Regions from separate parts of the Homo sapiens genome. Here region 2 is linked to region 1. The links are contacts of gene promoters, found by promoter capture Hi-C in human tissues and cell types (Jung and others, 2019). All regions are on one chromosome and are shown on one strand. The core of a region is centred on a gene start or on the middle of the fragment in contact, and the rest is flanking DNA. Distances in the headings are between cores, read along the strand shown. Region 1 holds the start of THOC2 (THO complex subunit 2). Region 2 has its middle 49 kb from the start of THOC2.

Evidence for each region. The method cuts DNA at HindIII sites, captures the fragments that hold promoters and counts their contacts. A contact is called where the count stands out against the background at its distance.
Region 2: a contact is called between a fragment that was not itself captured here and the fragment with the promoter of THOC2 in region 1, in 2 of the 25 tissues and cell types used here (adrenal gland and neural progenitor cells).

What each region holds. Positions count from the first base shown.
Region 1 is chrX:123,728,734-123,736,038 of GRCh38, reverse strand. It overlaps THOC2 (THO complex subunit 2), which reads left to right and starts at 2,987. Exons shown (of 39, transcript NM_001081550.2): 1 at 2,987-3,087. The coding sequence starts at 3,017. RefSeq lists an enhancer at 2,972-3,051. The HindIII fragment of the contact is 14,729 bases long and covers 1-5,136 here.
Region 2 is chrX:123,778,865-123,786,169 of GRCh38, reverse strand. It overlaps the pseudogene CHCHD2P1. Among named protein-coding and RNA genes, the nearest start is that of THOC2, 49 kb to the right of the region's middle. RefSeq lists an enhancer at 1,170-1,349. The HindIII fragment of the contact is 6,704 bases long and covers 218-6,921 here.

The DNA of each region.
Region 1 (7,305 bases), core at 1,738-4,237:
TATATTTGATCCTCCTCAAAACGGCAGAAGGTTTTTACAAGCAGAAATCACTGAAGTTAATAGGTGGATATTTTCTAGTGGGTGGCTTTAGAATTTCAAAGTGAGACAGGACACTAGAAGACTAGATACAGCTGGTGAAAAACAATCATAAACAATGGAGCATTTTCCCAGAACCAGTTCTGAATACAGCACATAACTTAAATAGTTTTTCAATGCAAATGAACCTGGTTCATTTGACAAAACTTGCCATATTTAGAAGATACTAGCTCTAAAGTTCATATGTGGGGTAGGATTTCTTCATTTGGATTGTCTGTATTTTCTGCCAAACGTGTGTTTTTTTTTTTTTTAATTTTTTTATTATACTTTAAGTTATAGGGTACACGTGCACAACGTGCAGGTTTGTTACATATGTATACATGGGCCATGTTGGTGTGTTGCACCCATTAACTCGTCATTTACATTAGGTATATATCCTAATGCTATCGCCCCCCACCCCACAACAGACCCCGGTGTGTGATGTTCCCCTTCCTGTGTCCAAGTGTTCTCATTGTTCAATTCCCACCTATGAATGAGAACATGAGGTGTTTGGTTTTTTGTCCTTGTGATAGTTTGCTGAGAATGATGGTTTCCAGCTTCATCCATGTCCCTACAGAGGACATGAACTCATCATTTTTTATGGCTGCATAGTATTCCATGGTGTATATGTGCCACATTTTCTTTCTTTCTTTTTTTTTTTTTTTCTGTCAAGTCTGCTTTATTTAAGTCAATATTAGACCTGCTGTTCCTAAACAGAAATGCCCTGATGACAGAGGAGTGGGAGGGAAGCAGGCTCATGTGAGGGTGTGGGAAGGCCACTTGGCCCAAAATGTTTGCAAGAAATACACCAGGAAAAGCCTATTTTAATTCTCCTGCATTAGGAACTGCCCTGTGAGATTCCTGCAAAATAATCCTCCAGGCTCAGGACTATTCCTCTTCTCTTGTGCTAGACACATCTCTCTTCTGGAAAGTTTTCCTTCCTTTTTTTTTTTTTTTTTTCTGTTGACTTTTTTTTTTTTTTTTATTGATCATTCTTGGGTGTTTCTCGCAGAGGGGGATTTGGCAGGGTCATAGGACAATAGTGGAGGGAAGGTCAGCAGATAAACAAGTGAACAAAGATCTCTGGTTTTCCTAGGCAGAGGACCCTGCGGCCTTCTGCAGTGTTTGTGTCCCTGGGTACTTGAGACTAGGGAGTGGTAATGACTCTTAACGAGCCTGCCGCCTTCAAGCATCTGTTTAACAAAGCCCATCTTGCACCGCCCTTAATCCATTTAACCCTGAGTGGACACAGCACATGTTTCAGAGAGCGCAGGGTTGGGGGTAAGGTCATAGATCAACAGGATCCCAAGGCAGAAGAATTTTTCTTAGTACAGAACAAAATGAAAAGTCTCCCATGTCTACCTCTTTCTACACAGACACAGCAACCATCCGATTTCTCAATCTTTTCCCCACCTTTCCCCCTTTTCTATTCCACAAAACCGCCATTGTCATCATGGCCCGTTCTCAATGAGCTGTTGGGTACACCTCCCAGACCGGGTGGTGGCCGGGCAGAGGGGCTCCTCACTTCCCAGTAGCGGCGGCCGGGCAGAGGCGCCCGTCACCTCCCGGACGGGGCGGCCGGCCGGGCGGGGGGCCGACCCCCCCACCTCCCTCCCGGACGGGGCGGCCGGCCGGGCGGAGACGCTCTTCACCTCTCAGACGGGGCGGCTGCCGGGCGGAGGGTCTCCTCACTTCTCAGACGGGGCGGCCGGGCAGAGACGCTCTTCACCTCCCAGACGGGGTCGCGGCCGGGCAGAGGCGCTCCTCACATCCCAGACGGGGCGGCGGGGCAGAGGCACTCCCCACATCTCAGACGATGGGCGGCCAGGCAGAGACGCTCCTCACTTCATCCCAGACGATGGGCAGCCGGGCAGAGACGCTCCTCACTTCCTAGACAGGATGGCGGCCGGGCAGAGACGCTCCTCACTTTCCAGACTGGGCAGCCAGGCAGAGGGGCTCCTCACATCCCAGACGATGGGCGGCCAGGCAGAGAGGCTCCTCACTTCCCAGACGGGGTGGCGGCCGGGCAAAGGCTGCAATCTCGGCACTTTGGGAGGCCAAGGCAGGCGGCTGGGAGGTGGAGGTTGCAGCGAGCCGAGATCACGCCACTGCACCCCAGCCTGGGCACCATTGAGCACTGAGTGAACGAGACTCCGTCTGCAATCCCGGCACCTCGGGAGGCCGAGGCTGGCGGATCACTCGCGGTTAGGAGCTGGAGACCAGCCCGGCCAACACAGCGAAACCCCGTCTCCACCAAAAAAATACGAAAAACAGTCAGGCGTGGCGGCGCGCACCTGCAATCGCAGGCACTCGGCAGGCTGAGGCAGGAGAATCAGGCAGGGAGGTTGCAGTGAGCCGAGATGGCAGTACAGTCCAGCTTTGGCTCGGCATCAGAGGGAGACTGTGGAAAGAGAGGGAGAGGGAGACCGTGGGGAGAGGGAGACGGGAGAGGGAGACGGGAGAGGGAGAGGGAGAAGGAGAGGGACCCGATTATTTTCTTTTATCTCAGCAGTCAGCAGGGCGTAATGTAATTTATTTGCTTATATTTATGGCTTTCCCAAAGACTATTATTTCTCTATTCCCAGTGTCTAGCACATATTAGGTGCTTGAAAAATGCGTGTTTGTATTAGTGGTTAGGGGTAGATATTACGGAAGAAGATGAAGTCTACTTGTTGGCCTGTGGATGGCATTTCTCTGTTCTAATGGGAAGTAAGGCCGAAGACTTCGGAGGGCGCAACCCGTGTAGTAACCTCGCAAAGGGGCCCGCGAGTCTCCACGTCGTTGGCTGCCTTGCCTCGGGTTTCCGCTGGGTGGAGAGGAAAGTGGGGCGGGAAATCGAAAAACGAACTCTCAGCTCCCGGCATTCCTCGTGGGCGGTGCTCCCCTTTGACCCTTCGCTCGCGTGCTACACATCCGGGCTTCTGCTACTAGTGAGAGGAAGATGGCGGCCGCGGCTGTGGTGGTTCCCGCAGAGTGGATAAAGAACTGGGAGAAATCAGGGAGAGGCGAATTGTGAGTGTTCGGGCCGGAGGCAGGCGCACTGCCGGGCCGGGCCAGGGCGTCAGCTGCACTCTCACCTGTAGTGGGAGGTTGAGGGGGAAAGATGTACCCCCTCCCCCACCCGGGCGGCGGGCGTGGATGGTCGTCTAGGAGTTTCGAACTCGGGGAGAGGTGCTGTTTACCGCCGCGGACCTCCTTCCTTCCCTGGCCTCCCAGAAATCGCTACTGCCTGCGGTAGCTCGGCTTCCTTTAGCCTCTTAGTAGAACTCTTATTCCGCCCCTGCAGGTCTCCGCGCTCCCTCTTGGTCTCTTTTTGTGTCCCCCTCTTCGCTTGATCTCACTTGGCTCCTTTATCTTTATGGGGCTGAGCCGGGGCAATTCGGACTTTCCATCTCTCTCTGTGCCATTTCTTCACTCTGCACCCGTTGGACTCCGCAGTTTGGAGCTTGGCGCCTCCTCTGCCTGAAGTCCAAGGAGGGCGAACCGTCCCGGATTCCCCTCCCCTCCTCTTCGCCCGCTGCCGCGAAGCCCGGGGCGCCGCGAAGAACCCGGTTTGGCACCTCTCGCCCTCCCGGGGAGCGGTCTCTCGACTGTCCCGGCCTCGCGTAGCGCCGTGGGGAAGTGTGGCAGGGATTGCCGCTTTCCCTGAAGAACCACCGACATTTCTTTGCTCCGTCTTTTCACCTTAGAGCTATTTCGGGTTGGATTCAACTTTCGTCATTAAATGTTCCCTAAACCCCATTTTATCCTGGGACTGCAACTAATTCTGGCAGCTCTCCAAGCTTCTCCAGTACCTAGGATAACGCGTTTCCTTTAGTCGTGAAACTTTCCCCCGTAACACCGAAAACAGTAATTTGCCATACCCCTAGTCTTCTCGCCCCCACGTTAGAGCGCTCCCTCCTCCCCTTCCCCTGGAAGGAGTCGTTTAAGCAGCAAAGCAAACCTCAGATATAAGAACAAATATTAATAACATCTCATTTCCTTCTCTGGGTCGCTTTTAGATGCTAAAGCTCAACCCTGGATGAAATTAACCCTCGTTAGCCATTTTTGTCGTCCTTGCCCACCCCTCTCCATTTCTAGTAGCCAGTTTACCGTGGCTCATGCTAAAGATTCAAATCTTTGTAACTTCGTTACTTGGAACGAAACACGAGGAACGCGTTGCCGGATCCCGCGCTTGTAATAGTGCCAGCCTATGTGGCTTCCTCCCCCGCACCCCCCGCACTGCTGTATGAAGTCTTAACAGTGTGAGCTCTAGAATTCCCTAAATAAGCGGCTGTCTTAGCCACTTAAGTAGCTGAGTGACCTTGGGTAAGTTCCTTAACCACTTGGACTGTTTCCCCTTGAGTAAATTGGGAATAATAAGTACTCTACTCAAAGGATTGTTGTGAAGACTAAATAATGCCTGTAAAGCACTTGGCTTATAGTAAGTGCTCAAGTGATAGCTATTAAAAGTAATATTATTCCAACCTTTAGATATTTAAACTTCTCAGGACAGCTCATGCACTTAAAGTCTGTACCACTCAGGTTAGCAATTAATTGGTCTCTGACTTATTCATGTGTGTTTATTCTTGCACTGTAATGAATTGGGAGGCCTTTGAAATATAGGGACTATGTCTCATATTTCTTTTGGTTTAACACATGCCCCGCCCCCCCAGCCTATGCTTAGAATGCTTATTGGTTTATTAATTGTCAGAGAAGGCTATTTGATAAATCTTCGTTTTTAACTATAATGAACATTTTACAAATCCTCGTATGTGCTAGTTAACAAATAGCTGTCAAGTTTGATAGCTAGTTGACAAATAGCCATCAAGTTTGGGGAAGGCAAGATGGGAAGTTACCCAGCCAGACCATCATCTTCATCGATATTAGGGTAATCCCCCAAAACTGATAAAAGCAGTTCATTGTTTTGTTTACTTTCAAAGCCAGCTCATTTATTTAGGGGCTGTTATGTTTGTAGATTGCTCAGCTTCCTCCTTTCAGCTACTGTTTTTTGACAGTTTTACTTTTTTTTTTCCCCCTTGAGACGGAGTCTCGCTCTGTCGCCCAGGCTGGAGTGCAGTGGCGCGATCTCGGCTCACCGTAACCTCCGCCTCCCACGTTCAAGCGATTCTCCTGTCTCAGCCTCCTGAGTAGCTGGGACTACAGGCGCGTGCTACCACGCCCGGCTAATTTTTTGTATTTTTACTAGACACGGAGTTTCACCGTGTTATCCAGGATGGTCTCCATCTCCTGACCTGGTGATCCGCCCACCTCGGCCTCCCAACAGTTTTACTATTATTGCTGCCACCTTAGCATGAGTGGTATTAGGGCTATAAGGTGAAATTCTGCTTGGCTTCTGACTGGTAATGGTTTGAGAAAAAGTGATGTAGGAGATCGAAATACTTAGATAAAATGGAATTTTAGGTTCACATTATGTATATTTACATAATACATGCTATCTGTCATAGTTCTTATGTTTGAAGAGCTGCTTAAAAACTGTTATTAGAAGCCGAGCGTGGTGGCTCACGCCTGTAATCCCAGCAAATTGGGAGGCCGAGGCGGGTGGATCACCTGAGGTCAGGAGTTCCAGACAAGCCTGACCAACATGGAGAAACCCCATCTCTACTAAAAGTACAAAATTTGCCGAGCGTGGTGGCACATGCCTGTAATCCCAGCTACTCAGGAGGCTGAGGCGGGAGAATCGCTTGAATCTGGGAGGCGGAAGTTGCGGTGAGCGGAGATCGCGCTGTTGCACTCCAGCATGGGTAACAAGAGCGAAACTCTTTAAAAAAAAAAAAAAAACAAAAACCCAAACAAAAACAAACCAAAAACAACAGCAAAAAAACCTGTTATTAGAACTTACGTGTATGTAGTTATTGCATGACTTGTGGAATGTGGATTGAATTATAGTAGATCCAAATCAGTATAGTCAGTTTTATGATTGCATTCTGTTACAGGAAGAGAATTTAAAATTGTGTAACATAATAAGCTATTTTAAATAGTTAAACACATCACCATCCAGTACTTAGTTTCAGTTTATTTGACCTGTTTTCCCTCTATGAAACTTTGTTGCATATAGCATGTCTTTGGAGTTTTTGTGTCTTCCTAAAGATAGGTGTTAGCATTTTCATATTACTAGGCAGAATACGTGGTGGTGCAAATATATTACAAAAAACCTTTTTCCTTTGTCTGAAAACAGCTTCTGAAATATAAAACAGCAACTGGAAATGTTAAAAATGAAGGTAGTGTGCCACCACATTATTAGTGAAGCTATAGATTTGGCGTTTAGAATATGACCAATATTTAAAATTATACCTTGGGTGAATTTTTCCTTTTTAACAAGATAAATTAGCAGATAAGCTTTAACTTGACTGAAAATTATCTTTTTAAAAATAATGTGATATATTTCATGAGGTTGTTAATTCATTTCTTGTCTGTCACTTCTTACCAGCATAAATCTTTTCTGGGGGTGGTAGTCAGCTAGTGTTGAAAGCAACATAAGAGATGTATGGGGCATTTTATAACTTTCAGATAGGGCAAATTCTTAACTGTACGCCATGAAAAACAACTGTCTATTAAATGGAAGGTCTTGACTTTGAAGAATGTTTTATTAGGTAATTAGAGAGAAAAGTAAAACTGTATTTTGCCTATCTGAATGGTCCATCCATCACATATCTAGATATCCCATTATGTTTCCAGAGATACCAATTATGTTTTTAATGCTAAATTATAGAACTCTTAAAGAGTGACCTTTAAAGTGATCTTAAAGAGGGATCAGAAGGGCAAAGGAGGACTACCAAAATGTAATTGTAATTTCCAATAATACTTATATCTAAATGCAAACTCTTCCAAATTCTGAAAGATATGTATTTAATCACTTAATTTTGGAATTAGTTTTAGTTTCTTGATTATTTTATATTGACGTAGAACTTGCCATGATGAAGCTAATAAACTTGCATGTACTGGTAGATCCAGTGTAGAATTCTGTTTTTGGTAGAAATCATTAACACAGTGAACTCAGCATTTCTTTGTTACAGGCAACCTTAATGGAGAATTGATATTCGAAGCTCTTAATCTGAAGATGCTAGCCTCATGTTAATACTTAGTCTAATTTTGAAATACTTACGTTTGTTGAATATCATCTGTTTGTTTGAATAGCTTATTTAGGTATCAATTAGAAAGTTTTGTTAGGTCTTACCTTATTAATGGTAGTTACAATAAAGTTTTAAAATTTAATTGCCAAATGTTTTG
Region 2 (7,305 bases), core at 2,320-4,819, 50 kb before region 1:
TTCACATTCTCATCAACAATATGTAAAGTTTCCCATTTCTCCACATTCTCAGCAACACTTGTTATTGTCTTTTTTGGGCAAAGAAAATCACTTTATTCTAATTAACTCACAAACAAAACAAAACAAAAAAATTACAACAGCTGGTTTAAGGAGGCCACACAAACATTTGACACGCCCCAAATTCTATACTATCTTAATGAAATTCTACCAAATAAGAACACCCTCTTCTATTGCAATTCTGAAGCAAGAAAGTAATGAATGACAGAGGATTGGTTTCACTGACGGTTTTACACTTTATACCTTCACTATTAAATATATATTATATATATACTTTTTTTTTTTGAGACAGATTTTGCTCTTGTTGCCCAGGCTGGAGTGCAATAGCATGATCTCGGTTCACCACAACCTGCAGCTCCTGGGTTCAAGTGATTCTCTTACCTCAGCCTCCCGAGTAGCTGGGATTACAGGCATGCGCCAGCACGCCCGGCTCATTTTTCGTATTTTTTTTTTTTTTAGTAGAGACGGAGTTTCTCCATGTTGGTTAGGCTGGTCTCGCACTCCCCACCTCAGGTGATCCGCCTGCCTCGGCCTCCCAAAGTGCTGGGATTACAGGCGTGAGCCACCACGCCCGGCTATCAATTATGTTTTTATGCTAAATTAACTTAGTTGTGAGAGCTGATTTTCCATTTCTTCAATTTGAACTTCTTGATTAGATAAATCCATTTGCAAGTCTGCACTGTTTCACCACCTCATGGAAACCCTCACAGAACTTTATGTCTCCCTGATTCTGGGCACATTCCAAAAACCATTTTATCTCATACAAGAAAGCCTACTGCTGCTGTGCCGGGTGGGTTCCCTGAGGCTTCTGGTAAGTGATGTCACCACTTGGGGGCTCAGCATTATTTACTCCACTGAAGCTCCCACTGATGGCATGACCCAGTATGTGCCCCACAGCAGAGTCCACAGCCATGCCAGCTGCAGTGATTGCCGCCCGGGCCATCAGACCTGGCTGCCGCGGAGTGCAGCAGCAGGAGAGCCAGCTGCAGAGGGTGGGGCTGCTGCTAGTGGCTGAGCTGCTGGTGCTGGCCTGGGTGTAGTTCTTATCTGAGGTTCTCAGCTGGCTAGAGGGGCCACGTGGGAGGTGCAGTTTCAGCTTCCACGTGACGTTGCAAATGTGCTGCGGCTCAGCGTCTAGACTTGTGAAACTCTATCTTTCTAAAATTATAGCCATTCTTCTGCATGTAAAATGGTATCTCGTGGTTTTGGTTTGCATTTCCTTAGTGATTAGTGATGTTGAACATCTTTATTTTATTTAGTCATTTATTTTTGAGATGGAGTTTTGCTCTGTCACCCAGGCTGGAGTGCAATGGCTCAATCTCGGCTCACTGCAACCTCGGCCTCCCAAGTTCAAGCGATTCTCCTGTCTCAGCCTCCCAAGTAGCTGGGATTACAGGCGCCCGCCACCATGCCAGGCTAATTTTTGTAGTTTTTAGTAGAGACAGCGTTTTGCCACGTTGGCCAGGCTGGTCTCAAACTCCTGACCTCAGGTGATCTGCCTGCCTCGGCCTCCCAAATTGCTGGGATTACAGGTGTGAGCAACCATGCCCAGCCTTATTTTTTGTTTTTATGTAGAGATAGTCTCACTATGTTGCCCAGGCTGGTCGTGAACTCCTGGGCTCAAGATATCCTCCCACGTTGGCAGCCCAAAGTGCTGGGATTATAGATGTGGGCCACCACGTCTGGCCCTGAATATCTTTAAATGTCTTTATCAGCCATTTGTATATCTTCTTTGAAGAAATGTCTACTTAAGCCCTTTGCTGTCCCCGCATCCGCCAACTTTTTTTTTTTTTTTTTTTTGAGTAGGAGTCTCACTCTGTTGCCCAGGCTGGAGTGCAATGGGGCAATCTCAGCTTACTGCAACCTCTGCCTCCTGGGTTCAAGCAATTCTCCTGCCTCAGCCTCCCGAGTAGCTGGGATTACAGGTACTGCCACCATGCCCGGCTAATTTTTGTATTTTTAGTAGAGACAGGGTTTCACCATGTTGGCCAGGCTGGTCGCTTTGGCCAGGCTGGTCTCGAACTCCTGACCTCCTGATCCCCCTGCCTTGGCCTCCCAAAGTGCTGAGATTACAGGCGTGAGCCACCGTGCCCGGCCCCTTTGCCCCTTTTTGAAAATTGGGCTTTTTTTTTTGGCTGGGCGTGGTGGCTCTCACCTGTAATCCCAGCACTTTGGGAGGCCAAGGTGGGCAGATCAAGAGGTCAGGAGATCGAGACCATCCTGGCTAACACGGTGAAACCCCATCTCTACTAAAAATACAAAAAATTAGCTGGGCGTGGTGGCAGGCGCCTGTAGTCCCAGCTACTCGGGAGGCTGAGGCAGGAGAATGGCGTGAACCTGGGAGGCGGAGCTTGCAGTGAGCTGAGATCGCACCACTGCACTCCAGCCTGGGTGACAGAGTGAGCCTCCGTCTCAAAAAAAAACAAAAAACAAAAAACAAACAAAAAAAAAAACAAAAAAACAAATTGGGCTTTTTTTTTTTTAAAGATTATTGAATGTTAAGGTTATACATTCTAGATAAAAGTCCCTTGTCAGATATATGGTTTGCAAATATTTTCTCCCATTCTGTAGGTTGTCTTTTTACTTTCTTGATGGTGACTTATGGTGTACAAAAATTTTAAATTTTTATGAAGCCCTATTTATCTATTTTTTTCTTTTGTCATTTGTGTTTTTGATGCTCTATCTAAGAAACTATTTCCTATCCCAGGATCACAAATATTTACTTCTATAATACTTCTATAATTTATTTTTGAATGCTAATTTTGTATCCAGCAATTTGCTAAACTCTCTAATTAATTATAATAATTTACTGTACTTTTTCTTTTTTCTTTTTCTTTTTTTCTTTTTTTTTTTTTTTTTTGAGACGAGGTTTTGCGCTTGTTGCCCAGGCTGTAGTGCAATGGCACAATCTCAGCTCACTGCAACTCCTGCCTCCCGGGTTCAAGGGATTCTCCTGTTTTAGCCTCCCAAGTAGCTGGGATTACAGGCGCCCGCCATCAAGCCTGGCTAATTTTTTGTATTTAGTAGAGGAATTTCGCCATGTTGGTCATGCTGGTTTCGAACTCCTGACCTCAAGGGATCCATCCGCCTCTGCCTCCCAAAGTGCTGGGATTACAAGCATGAGCCACTGCGCCCAGCCCTAATCTTTAATATTTTTACCTTTAATTTTTTTATTTTTTATTGCTGTTTTGTGCCTAGTAAAATATTGAATAGAAATAGTGATAATGGATATCATTGTCTCATTCCTCATTAATAGGGGAAAGCTTTTAATATTTATTCTTTAAGTTTGATGCTTGCTTTAGGTTTCTTTTAAGATTAAGGAAATTCCATTTTGCTATTTTATAAGATTAAATAAATTCTACTTTATTACTACTGACAGTTTTTCTTTTTCTTTTTTGAGACAGGGTCTTGCCCTGTTGCCCAGCCTGGAGTGCAGTGGTACAAACATGGCTCATTGTAGCCTCAACCTCCTGGGCTCAAGTGATCCTCCTCCCACCTCAACCTCCCAAGTAGGTGGGACCACAGGCATGTGCCACCATACCTGGCTAATTTTTGTATTTTTAGTAGAGATGGGGTTTCACCATGTTGGCCAGGCTGGTCTCGAACTCCTGACCTCAGGTGATCCACCTGCTGCCTTCGCCTCCCAAAGTGCTGGGATTACAGGCGTGAGCCAATGCGCCCAGCCAGTTGGTTTGTTTGTTTTCAAATCTGTAGTATCACCTTACAGTTTCTAATTCCTTAAGGAGTATTTAAATAGGGGTTTTAACAGTATCTAGAGTCATAGTGGATGGCAGATGTATTTGTATTGTCTGTTGTTTCTGATGCTTCTTGCTCAATCTTTGTTGTCTCTCACTGTGTGTCTCGTTATCTTTTTTCTTTTTTCTTTTGAGAGAGTCTCACTCTGTTGCCCACGATGGAGCGCAGTGGCTCAATCTCGGCTCACTGCAACCTCTGCCTCCTAGGCTCAAGCAATTTTCATGCCTCAGCCTCCTGAGTAGCTGGGACTGCAGGTGTGCTGGTCTTGAACTCCTGACCTCAAGTGAGCCACCTCCCCGGCCTCCTGAAAGTGCTGGGATTACAGGCACGAGCCACTGTGCCTGGCTCTGGTTATTTATTTATTTATTTATTTATTTATTTATTTATTTATTTTTTGAGACGGAGTCTCGTCCTGTTGTCCAAGCTGGAGTGCAATGGCACGATCTCAGCTTACTGCAACCTCCGCCTCCCGAGTTCAAATGATTCTCCTGCCTCAGCCTTTCAAGTAGCTGGGATTACTGGTACCCACCACCACGCCCAGCTAAATTTTGTATTTTTAGTAGAGACGGGGGTTTCACCATGATGGCCAGGCTGGTCTCGAACTCCTGACCTCGTGATCTGCCCACCTCAGCCTCCCAAAGTGTTGGGATTACAGGCGTAAGCCACCACATCTGGCCCCTGATTATCCTTAGTTATGTGTTGGATATCCTATTTGAAGAATTATTGTTATTATTATTATTGAGATGGAGTCTTGCTTTTGTCGCCCAGGCTGGAGTGCAGTGGCGCGATCTTGACTCACTGCAACTGCATCTCCTGGGTTCAAGCAATTCTCCTGCCTCAGCTTCCCGAATAGCTGGGATTACAGGTGCCTGCCAACATACCCAGCTAATTTTTGTATTTTTAGTAGAGATGGGGTTTCACCATGTTGGCCCGGCTGGTATCGAACTCCTTACCTCCGGTGACCCACCCGCCTTGGCCTTCCAAAGTGCTGGGATTACAGGTGTGAGCCGCTGTGCCCGGTCCTGAAGAATTATTTATAGAAATAATTTGAGACTTGGAATAATATTATCTTTTCCCAGAAAGGATTTTTTTGTTCCTTACCAAGTGCCTGGGGCACTAATAGTATGGGAAGAGTACGGGATTACCTTATTCCAAGTTTAAATCTTGGTATTTTGTGGGCCATTCAAATGATAAATCTGATCTATAGAGGTCATGAAGGCTAATTTACTTCTGGTTCGTCCTTACTACTAGGGTGTAGCTATCTAGTTTCCAAACCCAAAGCAGGGAACAGTACACCTTAGATTCCACCTTTTGTCCCCCAGCCCCATAAACCAACAAATGAGCAGCTCAGCTTCTCACATACCTCTTTGGAATGGTCAAACACCTTAAGGTTAAAAGCTATCCCTGCATGCTATGCTAACCTCTCTGGGTTTCTGGCCTCTCTCTAAGCTTGCCTTAGTCATGACTCACCTGAAAGCATTAGTGGTCTGGAAACAAAGCTTGAGGAATTTTTTGTTTCCATATTCCAGAGTGTAGTCCTTTGAGTTCTCTCTGCACAAGAGTGTAATTTGCACTAGGAGTCCCCTTTGGCTGGTGGACAGCTTCAGCTGCTTTCTTCAGTTCCCAGTGTCCACCCCAAAGCACTGCTTGCCTATCAGTTGTTTCCTGGGCTGGGCAAATGACCCCTGGAGCAAAGACTACAACAGAATCCTAGTTGAGAGAGAGAGAGAGAGAGAGAGAGAGAGAGTGTGTGTGTGTGTGTGTGTGTGTGTGAGAGAGAGAGAGAGAGAGACAGAGACAGAGACACACACACACAGAGAGAGAGATATCCAGAGTCCAGGGTCTACTTTCCTGGTGGCTGCAGGTCACTAACTCATTGTCTCATGTGTCCCTCTCACTTAAGGAACACCTTTTGCTTGGTAAATGCCTCTGGAGGGAAGAGGCCCTGGCTCACTTCTTTCTGTTCTGAGCACAAATTACCCTCACCACCACCCTGGCCCAAGCTACCATCATCTATCTCCTGGATTTAACTGAGTTCCCAGCTTCCACCTTTGCCATTCTATTCTCCTCATAAAAGTGACTGATCCTTTAAAAGAATAAATCAGACATGTCACTTCTTAGTTTAAAACCTCCCAGTGTCTTTTAAACCCACTCAGAATAAAATCCAAAATCGTTCCCATGACCTACAGGGACTTATATAACCTGATCCCTGGTTACCACTCAGATCTTATCACCTGTACTTCAGTCACACTAGCTTCCTGCTGTTCCTCAAACAAGCCAGTTATGCTTGAGCCTCAGGACTTTGTACTTACTGCCTGCAATGCTCTTTACCTTGATATCCTCATGGCTGATTCATTCACCTCCTTTAAGTTTTTGCTGAAGTGTTACCTATCAGAAAGGCCTTCCCTGATCAGCCTATGTAAAATAGCATTCCTTTCCTTTTATTCTTTATGCTCTTACCCAGGTTTATTTTCCTTATAACACTTGTCACCAATTGTCATATTTTATTTTATTTTATTTTGTTTTATTTTGAGACAGATTCTCATTCTGTCGCTCAGGCTGGAGTGCAGTGGTGCGATCTTGGCTCACTGCAACCTCTGCCTCCTGGGTTCAAGCGATTCTCCCGCCTCAGCCTCCTGAGTAGCTGGGACTACAGGCATGCACCACCACGCCTGGCTAATTTTTGTATTTTTAGTAGAGAGGGGGTTTCACCATGTTGGTCAGGCTGGTCTCAAACTCCTAGCCTCATGATCCGTCCGCCTCAGCCTCCCAAAGTGCAAGGATTATAGGCGTGAGCTACCGCACTCGGCTACTTGTTTTTAAAAATGTTGTCTCCCTCCCCAGCTAGATTGTAAACTTCATGAAAACAGGGACATATTCTTGTATGTCCAGCATACAAGAACAAACAGTGCCTTGCACATTATAGGTGACTCATAAATACGATATTAATGAAGAAATTGTGTAACACCTATATAAAGGAGACTAGGCCGGGCGCGGTGGCTCTCGCCTGTAATCCCAGCACTTTGGGAGGCCGAGGCGGGCGGATCATGAGGTCAGGAGATCGAGACCATCCTGGCTAACACGGTGAAACCCCGTCTCTACTAAAAAATACAAAAAAAAAAAAAAAGAAAAAAAAATTAGCCAGACATGATGGCGGGCGCCTGTAGTCCCAGCTACTCGGGAGGCTGAGAGCCAGGAGAATGGCGTGAACCCGGGAGGCATAGCTTGCAGTGAGCCGAGATCACGCCACTGCACTCCAACTCCAGCCTGGGCGACAGAGCAAGACTCTGTCTCAAAAAAAAAAAAAAAAAAAAAAGAGACTAAAATTAATCTAGAGGGACAGCAAAGGATTGAATTTTGCAAAAGTAGTAATTATTCCCAAATTAATTTATATATTTATCACCATTCTGATTTTAAAACTGCACAGTACTTTTTGGATCACAAGGTCAGGAGATCGAGACCATCCTGGCTAACATGGTGAAACCCCCGTCT